Regions from separate parts of the Homo sapiens genome. Here region 2 is linked to region 1. Evidence: promoter capture Hi-C in 16 types of primary human blood cells and fetal thymus (Javierre and others, 2016). All regions are on one chromosome and are shown on one strand. Each heading gives the region's core, a stretch centred on a gene start or on the middle of the fragment in contact. The rest is flanking DNA. Distances are from core to core; before and after follow the strand shown.

The links. Contacts are between HindIII fragments. The CHiCAGO score rates a contact against its expected background, and 5 or more counts as called.
Region 2: a fragment that was not itself captured here is called in contact with the fragment with the promoter of RAMP2 in region 1 in 1 of 17 cell types (endothelial precursors); the score reaches 6.6 in endothelial precursors.

What each region holds. Positions count from the first base shown.
Region 1 is chr17:42,759,073-42,763,869 of GRCh38, forward strand. It overlaps RAMP2 (receptor activity modifying protein 2), which reads left to right and starts at 2,155. Exons shown (of 4, transcript NM_005854.3): 1 at 2,155-2,286; 2 at 2,762-2,827; 3 at 3,283-3,391; 4 at 3,525-3,969. The coding sequence starts at 2,190. The coding sequence ends at 3,780. It overlaps RAMP2-AS1 (RAMP2 antisense RNA 1), which reads right to left and starts at 2,185. Exons shown (of 6, transcript NR_024462.1): 1 at 1,808-2,185; 2 at 1,563-1,639; 3 at 1,354-1,441; 4 at 667-808. RefSeq lists a silencer at 2,269-2,358. The HindIII fragment of the contact is 18,952 bases long and covers 1-4,797 here.
Region 2 is chr17:42,814,064-42,818,860 of GRCh38, forward strand. It overlaps BECN1 (beclin 1), which reads right to left. Exons shown (of 12, transcript NM_001313998.2): 5 at 4,724-4,797; 6 at 4,481-4,617; 7 at 4,158-4,352; 8 at 1,845-1,991; 9 at 461-610. Among named protein-coding and RNA genes, the nearest start is that of MIR6781, 7.5 kb to the right of the region's middle. RefSeq lists an enhancer at 3,717-4,797. The HindIII fragment of the contact is 505 bases long and covers 3,296-3,800 here.

The DNA of each region.
Region 1 (4,797 bases), core at 905-3,404:
CCTATATTTTCTTTTTTGATCTTAAGGCCATTTTACATATGAAAATCTTGAGCTCCAGAGATGTGAAATAACCTGCTCAAGTTACTTGCAGTAAGACAGAGGCAGAACCTACCTTCAGAATCCTCATCAGTTTTTTTCTTTCATCCGTTATGATTATCCATTATCATTATGCCATATTGTCCTTTTTTTTTTTTTTTGAGATAGGGCACAATCACAGCTCTCTGCAGCCTCAACCTCTGGGGCTCAAGTGATCCTCCTGCCTCAGCCTCCCGAGTAGCTGGGACTACAGGTGCACACCACTATGCCAGGCTAATTTTTTAAAAATTTTTTTATAGTTTTTTTTTTGTAGAGACAGGGTTTCACTATGTTGCCCAGGCTCTATTTTAAATCTAACATTTGCTTTTGTCCCCTTTAATCTTGACCCCAACCCCAGTCCTAACCCATAGTGGGCTCATGTGCTTCTGGCCCCAACCCAGTGAAAATGGCTTGTTTTGCTTTCTGCACCTCCTTGCTCCTTCCTCCCATCTTATCACTCAGAAATCTCCCATGCTTCCTTCTTGAAAGGAGCAATCCTAGGCAGGCAGGAAGGACTAGATTTGGTCCCAGCCTGAAATGTCTCAGAGACTGCATGGCTCTTTTCTGCATCATTGTAGAAATGATCCTTACCAGGAGGACTTTGGAGTTCACGTCAAGCAGGCCATTGACTCTCTCCCACTGGATTCTTTGCAAAAGCAGCCTCTTGACCATAGAGGAGGACAACAGGTTATCCGTGCCCATGATCCAAGAGCTTGAGATCCTGAGATGAAGACTTCAGGAGAGATCAGGACAGATAATTTGTGGTGGGCAGGAATCAGTAAACTGGGACAACAGCAGCAGCTGAGTCCAAGGGTCAGTGTCTGGGAGTAATTTAGGAAAGTTTGGTGCTGACAGCTGTGTCTGGGACTTGAACGTCATGGCCAAACCAGCTCCTGGGCTCCTCAGCTGCTTCAGACTAATGAACCTCTGGCCCAGGACACAAGAAGCAGCTGTGGTGTGGCTGAAGTCAGGACCCCCGGAGGCCCAGACTCAGCCTTGCTGCTTCCTTAACAGTGTGACCTTAGATAAGTCACTTAGGAAAAGAGGAAAGGAAACTAGCATTTAGCGAGTGCAGTGCCCTTTCACAGCTGCCATCATACAGTGAGGAGGGGAATGTCCCTATTTCACATGAGAAGTCCTGAAGGTAAACGTGTCATTCAAGGCTCTATAGCTGGGGAGTAAGAAGACAGAATTAGAACCCAGAGCTTCTGAATTCAAATCCCGGGCTGTTGGCCCTGAGCTTTAGCTTCTCGGTCTGTAAAATGGTGTTACACTCACCTGGCACATGAAGTCGCACACTGAAGGTTCTAAAACCCCTCCATTCTTTCTCCCAACCGTGGTCCTGAAGAGCTGTGGCACCTTCTTCCTGGGAACGTAGTCATCGTATTTTGCCCTCCCCACAACAGGTTTGTGGGGTCTAGGCCCCAGGAGGTGTCTGAAGGGAAGGTATTTGGACTTTGCTTTCCCCTCTACCCCACTCCCCAGACCTTCTCCCGACTCCAGAGGGCTGGCTCCCGCTTCTCCTCCCTGGTTTTGGCTGGCGGACTGACATCAGCTGGTATTCCTAGGGATAGGATAAGGAACCCTGAGCTGCATGGCTCAGCTCCAGGCGCCCCTTCCCCCACAACCCAGGACAGCCCCTTAGAAGCAGCGGCGTCGAGAGGCCGCTGGAGCTCCCAGCCCCCTCCCTCTTCTCCACGTCTGGGAGAGCAGCTTGCCGACCCCTCCAGACCCGAAAGAGAGAGGGGGCGACTCGAATTCGGGGAGCGATCCTGGGAGACCCTGGAGAGTCCTGGGCGCCACGCAGCCGAGCCCCCGAAATAGATCCCGGTTCCGGGGTTCCGGGAGCTGTCCAGCCTCGCGGGGTGAGCTACGAGAGGGTGGGCCAACGCCGGCGAGGCGGAGGGAGCCGCGGGCGCCAGGCGCGGGTGAGGCAGCGACTCCCCCTCCAGCCGCGGGCCCCGAGCGTCGCCCCCGCCCCCCACGTGGCCGCCGCCGTCCCAGCCCCTCCGAGGAAGCGGCGCGGCTTCCTGCAGCTTGGGCTGGGGATATAGGCGCCCCCACACCCGGGCCCGGCTCAGCGCCGCCGCCGCTCCTCGCCTCCTTGCTGCACGATGGCCTCGCTCCGGGTGGAGCGCGCCGGCGGCCCGCGTCTCCCTAGGACCCGAGTCGGGCGGCCGGCAGCGCTCCGCCTCCTCCTCCTGCTGGGCGGTGAGCGCGGCGCCCCGAGGCCCGGGCGGGAGGCGCGAGAGGCCCCGGAGGGGAGAGGGGAGAGGGGAGAGGGGCTGGATGGCCGAGGCCGGAACGGGCCCTGGGGTGCGGGTTAGGACCGACGTACCTAGCAGCACTGGCCCTCGGACGGTCCCTGACCCCACCTCGGGGCGGGCGCAGCATGAGCTGCTTCCCACCCAGGGAAAGCTGGGGTGCTGGCCCCGGCCCCTCGAAGAGGGCTTAGGAGGACGGAAGCTGGCCAGAGATGAGGGGGCTTTGGGCCTGGGTGTGAGTGACAAGGAGCTGGTGCCAGCCCCTCCCTCCCCGGCACTGAGGCGTCCGTGGGGGCTAGATTATTCCTCCTTTTCTTCCAAGGTAGCCTATTTTCGGAGGGTCTCAGTCCCCCAACCCCCCTCGCAGGCTCCACTGCCGGGGTCCCCGCTATGTTACCCTCCTCTCCCGTTTCTTCCCACAGCTGTCCTGAATCCCCACGAGGCCCTGGCTCAGCCTCTTCCCACCACAGGCACACCAGGGTCAGAAGGTGGGTACCCAGGGTGTGGAAGGGTGGCCGAGGGTAAGGACGAGAGCAAGTTCAGTGGGGAGGGTTCCTTTCCCACGAGGCCTGCCCAACCCCAGCTGATGCCCCACTACACTCCCCTCTGTTCTTTCTTGGGGTTCCTCGTGGTCTTTCTCCCTGTCCTCCTACAAAGCCCCTGCACGGCTCTGAGCTGCCCACCTCACAAGTGGGCGAGAAGACCCCAGGAAAAGGTGTACGTGGAAGTTCTTATCAGGCTGGGATGGAAAGTGCTTAGCACATGGAAGTCATTATAGGATTCCTGAGCTGGGACTCTGTCCTCAGCCAGAATGTTTTGCTAGGGAAACTTTCTGAAGGGTTCCCACGTTTGAAGACAGGCAGTTCACCTTGCAAGCACCTGGGCAGGAGGGTTTGTAGGGAGGGGTAGGGGTGTGGTCATTGTGTAGCATCTGTACCTACAGGGGGGACGGTGAAGAACTATGAGACAGCTGTCCAATTTTGCTGGAATCATTATAAGGATCAAATGGATCCTATCGAAAAGGATTGGTGCGACTGGGCCATGATTAGCAGGTAGGGGCAGTGATGGAGGGTGGCTCAGGCCAGGGGGTGGACCTGCTCATTGCAGGTAGACCCTGAGTGAGAGTGGGGCACTCTTCTCCCTGGGTCCACCCCCTCTCTCACTCAAGTCCTCTTCTGCCCCTAGGCCTTATAGCACCCTGCGAGATTGCCTGGAGCACTTTGCAGAGTTGTTTGACCTGGGCTTCCCCAATCCCTTGGCAGAGAGGATCATCTTTGAGACTCACCAGATCCACTTTGCCAACTGCTCCCTGGTGCAGCCCACCTTCTCTGACCCCCCAGAGGATGTACTCCTGGCCATGATCATAGCCCCCATCTGCCTCATCCCCTTCCTCATCACTCTTGTAGTATGGAGGAGTAAAGACAGTGAGGCCCAGGCCTAGGGGGCCACGAGCTTCTCAACAACCATGTTACTCCACTTCCCCACCCCCACCAGGCCTCCCTCCTCCCCTCCTACTCCCTTTTCTCACTCTCATCCCCACCACAGATCCCTGGATTGCTGGGAATGGAAGCCAGGTGGGGTCATGGCACAAGTTCTGTAATCTTCAAAATAAAACTTTTTTTTTGTACAATGTCCTTCTCCCCATTTCAGTGGAACCTGTGTCCTTCCCTGCCACTGCCACAGGCCCTCAGCCCTGGGTAGTAGAACTGGAAAAATCTGGATGGCCCATTGTTCTGTTCATTTCACCTGCCCCCCTGCTCCCTGCCTCCATGAAGGTCACACCCCTATATTCTTTCCTCCCAGGCGGGCCTTTCCTGCCTATATCCAAACTCGGCTCCAGGAAACAAGCAGGAAGAGACTCCCTTCCGGTCTGGACAGCAGCTGGGGGCCTGCAACTGGGGAGGTGTGGGGGAAGGGGCAAGGGAGGAATCTCTGCTTGTGACTCCTGCAAGAGGAGCAGGAGGCTGCCCAGGAGCCCTGACTATTCCTCTTCTTCATGCTTCAGTTTACTCACAGGGCCTGGGAAGAGGAACCCTGACTGAGCAACAGGAATCCATTCCTAAGGCCCTCACAATTGAGGGAGAAAGCAGTGGGGGCTTCCTTTACTAGGTTCACCACCCCTCTCCATGTCCCTTGCCCTCATCCTACATTGTCCTGGACTGGGTGTGGCCTGCAGCCTAGCAACACACTGCCCCCTGGTGTCCACTAAAGCCAGCAACCAGAAGACGTATCTGATCTGGAAGAAGCTCAAGGCTGAGGAGCACTGGACCCTGGGGTCAGAAAACTGCCATCTCTACAGCAATCACTAGTTCCTTGTTTGTTTGTTTGTTTGTTTGTTTGTTGAAACAAGGTCTCATTCTGTCACCCAGGCTGGAGTTCAGTGGCACAAACATGGCTCACTGCAGCCTCGACCTCCTGGGCTCAAGGATCCTCCCATCTCAGACTTCCAAGTAGCTGG
Region 2 (4,797 bases), core at 2,298-4,797, 56 kb after region 1:
GGGAAGTTACAACCCAATGATTTCACTCTTCATTCTGGCCAAGGGCTTCTTTTATTATGCTCAACTCCCTCTCCCACCTCCCCATTGAATCCATGTTTAAAAGATTTTGTTTAATGAACAAACTACATTTATTATATAATTGCCTGGGGGCCTTCCATGAACAAATGTTATGTTTTGGTTTAAATTTAAGAAACAAAAACTGAAAATATCCTGAGGAACACTAAGGCTCTGGGGACTGTAGGCTGGGAACTATGCTATAGTCACGCAACTCAGTGACTGTGTGATCAGTGGAGAGAGCCCTGTGATGAGGGGAAAATCAGATGCTGACAGCTCTTCAGCCACAGAAAACTCCCAGTCTGTGGGCAGCAAGGGCTCCTGACATGGTGGACAGCAGTACCAGGTTGGAGATACAAATTATATCAATGCACATCACTCCCCAAGAAAGGGCTACACTTCCTACCTCTGAAATTTCAGACCCATCTTATTGGCCAGAGCATGGAGCAGCAACACAGTCTGGCCCCAAGCAGCATTAATCTCATTCCATTCCACGGGAACACTGGGCAGGCGACCCAGCCTGAAGTTATTGATTGTGCCAAACTGTCCACTGTGCCTACAGAGGAAGGCAGAAAGGTGGGGGGAAATACAGGGATTACTTAAAAAGTTTGACATTTCCCACTCTCACCCCAAACCTAGCTTAAATCTATCTTCAAGTCCATATATGCAAGCTGTACTTGGCACTTTAAATACATGTCCAAAACTTGAGTCATCATCTTTTTCCCTGCTGCTCAGATGCCAAAGCAGAAACCTGGGTGGTATCCTTGAATGCTCCCTCAGCTCCTTCCGTGCAAAACTGCCAACCTCTCCTGATTCTACCTGCTAAATATCTTGGATCTTTCCACTTTTCTCCAAATTCAATGCTACTATTCTTTTCCTTTAGATTCCTACTGATGAGTATCCTTTCCAACGATTCCACCCCTTTACCCCAAGTCATTCCCCATGGTGCAGGAAAAGCCATCATTCACGAATACAAGTGTAATTACGTCACTTCCCTAGCTAAAATGCTTCAGTGTCTCCTCTGCCTTTTGGATGAAGTCCAAACCTCTTAACGAGGCCTACGAGATCCTTCAGGAACTGGTAACTCTCCAGTTTCATATCCGGCCACTCTCCCCTTTACACTCAATCTTCAGTCACAATAAGCTCCTTTCTGTTCTCTGAATTCACCACTCCCTCTTTCCCATTTCTTTGCACATAATGTTCTCTCTGCTAGGAACAACCCCCTCTCTGCAGACTTCTACTTTACCTCTCAGTTTAAACGTAAGTCCCCTATGGGGAAACTCTCCATATGGCCTCCCCAAACTGGATCAAGTGCCCTTATGTGTTCCCACAGCACCCTGGGTTTACCATCATCACACTGCATTACAACTGCTTGTTATTTATCCATCTCTTCCACCAGATTATATGCAACTAGAAGGTTGACTGCATACTGTTTTGCTGTTGCCCTCCTAGCACTCAGCACAGTGCCTTTTCCAGAGTAGACACTCAACAGTTATTAAATTAATGGAACATCAAACACCGTGGGGATAAGAAATCAGCACCAGACAGCTTACCAGGTTTTTAAGTGGCTGAAGGGCTCAGGCCTTTTCCTTTCTTTAGAAGGGCGGATGTCACCAAGCTCTAGAATTCCAATCCCTACTGTGCCTATCCCATCACTATGAATGAAAGAAACCTAGTTGGGTGAAGATAACCTACAGTCCCTCTTTTGTGGGAAGTGGGCACCCAGGCTTAGTGGTCAACAGCTAAGGTCTAGATATGTGCAGTGCTCCTCATCCCCTAGCTCTCATTACCAGATGTGGAAGGTTGCATTAAAGACGTTGGTTTTCTTCAGCTTATCCAGCTGCGTCTGGGCATAACGCATCTGGTTTTCAACACTCTTCAGCTCATCATCCAGCTCCAGCTGCTGTCGTTTAAATTCACTGTATTCTCTCTGATACCTGTGAGCAGCCAAGGGGGCCATTGAAGGCTGTTAGCTTGGGGGCTAAAGTTTCTCTCTCACCACACTATGAACGATTCTTTAGTGATCATCGTTACATCTAGCTCTCGCATCTTTTATATTTGGCATAGATCCCATTCTGAGGAACATGTATGTCCTAGCTGTTTTGCCTGGAAGGAACAGAAATGTCTCAAATTCCAGCTGCCCATATGCAAAAAGGTGGAGGAAAAAAGAATTCTCCCAAACCAGGGCAAAAAACCTCTTATTTCTGATCTTTTTCAGAAGTGAGGTGAATGGGTTAGGAGTGGCTTCTTGGGGCCAGGCGTGGTGGCTCACACCTGTAATCCCAGCACTTTGGGAGGCCAAGACGGGTGGATAACTTGAGGTCAGGAGTTCGAGAGCAGTCCGGCCAATGTGGTGAAACCCTGTCTCTACTAAAAATACAAAAATTAGCCAGGCGTGGTGGTGCACACCTGTAGTCCCAGCTACTTGGGAGGCTGAAGTGGCAGAATTGCTTCAACCCAGGAGGCAGAGGTTGCAGTGAGCTATCACACCACTGTACTCCAGACTGGGCAACAGAGCCGAGACTCTGTCTCAAAAAAAAAAAAAAAAAAGAGTGGCTTCTGCTTCTTCTGGGCCGGGTGCAGTGGCTCACACCTGTAATCCCAGCACTTTGGGAGGCTGAGGTGGGCAGATCACCTGAGGTCAGGAGTTAGATGCCAGCCTGGCCAACATGGTGAAATTCCGTCTCTACTAAAAAAATAAAATTAGCCAGGCGTGGTGGCGCACGCCTGTAGTCCCAGCTACTTGGGAGGCTGAGGTAGGAGAATCGCTTGAACCTGGGAGGTGGAGGTTGCAGACAACTGAGATCATGCCACTGCACTCCAGCCTAGGCAACAGAGTGAGACTCTGTCTCAAAAAAAAACCAAAATCAAAAACAAAAAACAGTGGCTTTTTCCAGCTGGCCATGGTGGCTTATGCCTGTAAACCCAGCACTTTGGGAGGCTGAGGCAGGTGGATCACTTGAGCTCAAGAGTTCAAGACCAGCCTGGGCAACATGGGGAAACTCCATCTCTATAAAAAATACAAAAATTAGCCAGGTATGGTGTTGCGCGCCTGTAGTTCCAGCTACTTGGGAGGCTGAGGCGGGAGGATTGCTTAGGTGTAGGAAGTCAAGGCCGCAGTGAGTCATGACTGCACCACTGCACTCCAGCCTGGATGACAGAGTAAGACTCTGTTTCTAAAAAAAAAAAAAACAAAAAAACAGTGGCTTCTTCCATGAACTGGCCATAATTGGCCTTCTAAAGCTTCATTTCTATACACTTACTGTCCTTTAAATAGTTACTATACCCCACTTCCAGTGAAACTTGTTATACTACTGTGTGAAAAAAATGGACTTTTCTCTATCCTTCATTTCCACAACTTCAGTTAGTATGGACACTGTGTGTCCTCCACTAGAGAGAGGGTTCTCTCAGGTCAAGGACATCTATAATGTTTTTATTTTTTGAGACAGGGTCTCAACTCTGTTGCCCAAGCTGGAGTGCAGAGGTGTGATCACAGCACACTGTAACCTCAAACTCCTGGGCTCAAGTTATCCTCCACTTCAGCCTCCTAAGTAGTTGCTAGGACTACAGGTCTACCACAGCAGCCTAATTTTTTTTTAATTTTCATTTTTGTAGAGATGGGGTCTCACTTGATATTGCCCCAGATGGCCTTAAATCCTGGCTTTAAGTGATCCTTCTGCCTTGGCCTCCCAAAGTGCTGGAATTACAGATATGAACGACCATACCTGGCCCCCATGAAATGTTTAAGCTTGGAGGGAACAAATGTAGGCTAATTAGCTCATCTTTTCAGCTAAGGATGGCTAGAAAGTGGCTGATTCATCCAAATGAGCCCATTCCCTACAGGACAGAGCCAAGACTGGAGCTCTGGTTTCTGCACTATTTAACCAACATACTTTTTTCACTTAATCATGCTGACTCTTCATAGGTAACTCTCCCAACAAACCTCTAGAAAAAGGGCATGGAAGCAATATGCAGGATCTGGGGCAGGCATGCTGCTGACTGACAGCTGACTAGTTTACAAACTATTCAGACACATTCAGCTGGAAGCCATTTCCTCTCCTGGAGCCTCGAGTGTGAGAAGATAGAACAGGGTGAGCACTCACTGAGCTTCCTCCTGATCCAGTCTCTCAGCCTCAGCCTGGACCTTCTCGAGATTTTCTGCCACTATCTTGCGGTTCTTTTCCACGTCTTCCAGCTCCTGGATCAGCCTCTCCTCCTCTAGTGCCAGCTCCTTTAGCTCCATCTGTAACTGTTCACTGTCATCCTCATTCATTTGCTCTAAGATCTCCAAACAGCGTCTGCCAAAGACACAGGCAGACTATACTTACTAGAGCTCCATTTGCCTGAGTGGAGTACGGCTCTTGGGTAAGGGCCAAGCAGTCTCAGAGCAGTAACAGCTCTGAGCCCTGGCTCTGGAGACACTCACTTGTAGTTCTGACACTCATTTTCAGTGACGTTGAGCTGAGTGTCCAGCTGGTCTAAAAGAGTATCTGTGCATTCCTCACAGAGTGGGTGATCCACATCTGTCTGGCCCGACATGATGTCAAAAAGGTCCCCAGTGACCTGGAAGTGTGGGAGAGTCAGGGTAGGGCCTCCCCCATGCTTCCTGCTCAATTACCCACTCTCCCAGCCAGGCCTACTGCTTGCCACCGGAATGGGGCCGACTTGCCTTCAGTCTTCGGCTGAGGTTCTCCATGGTGCCGCCATCAGATGCCTCCCCAATCAGAGTGAAGCTGTTGGCAC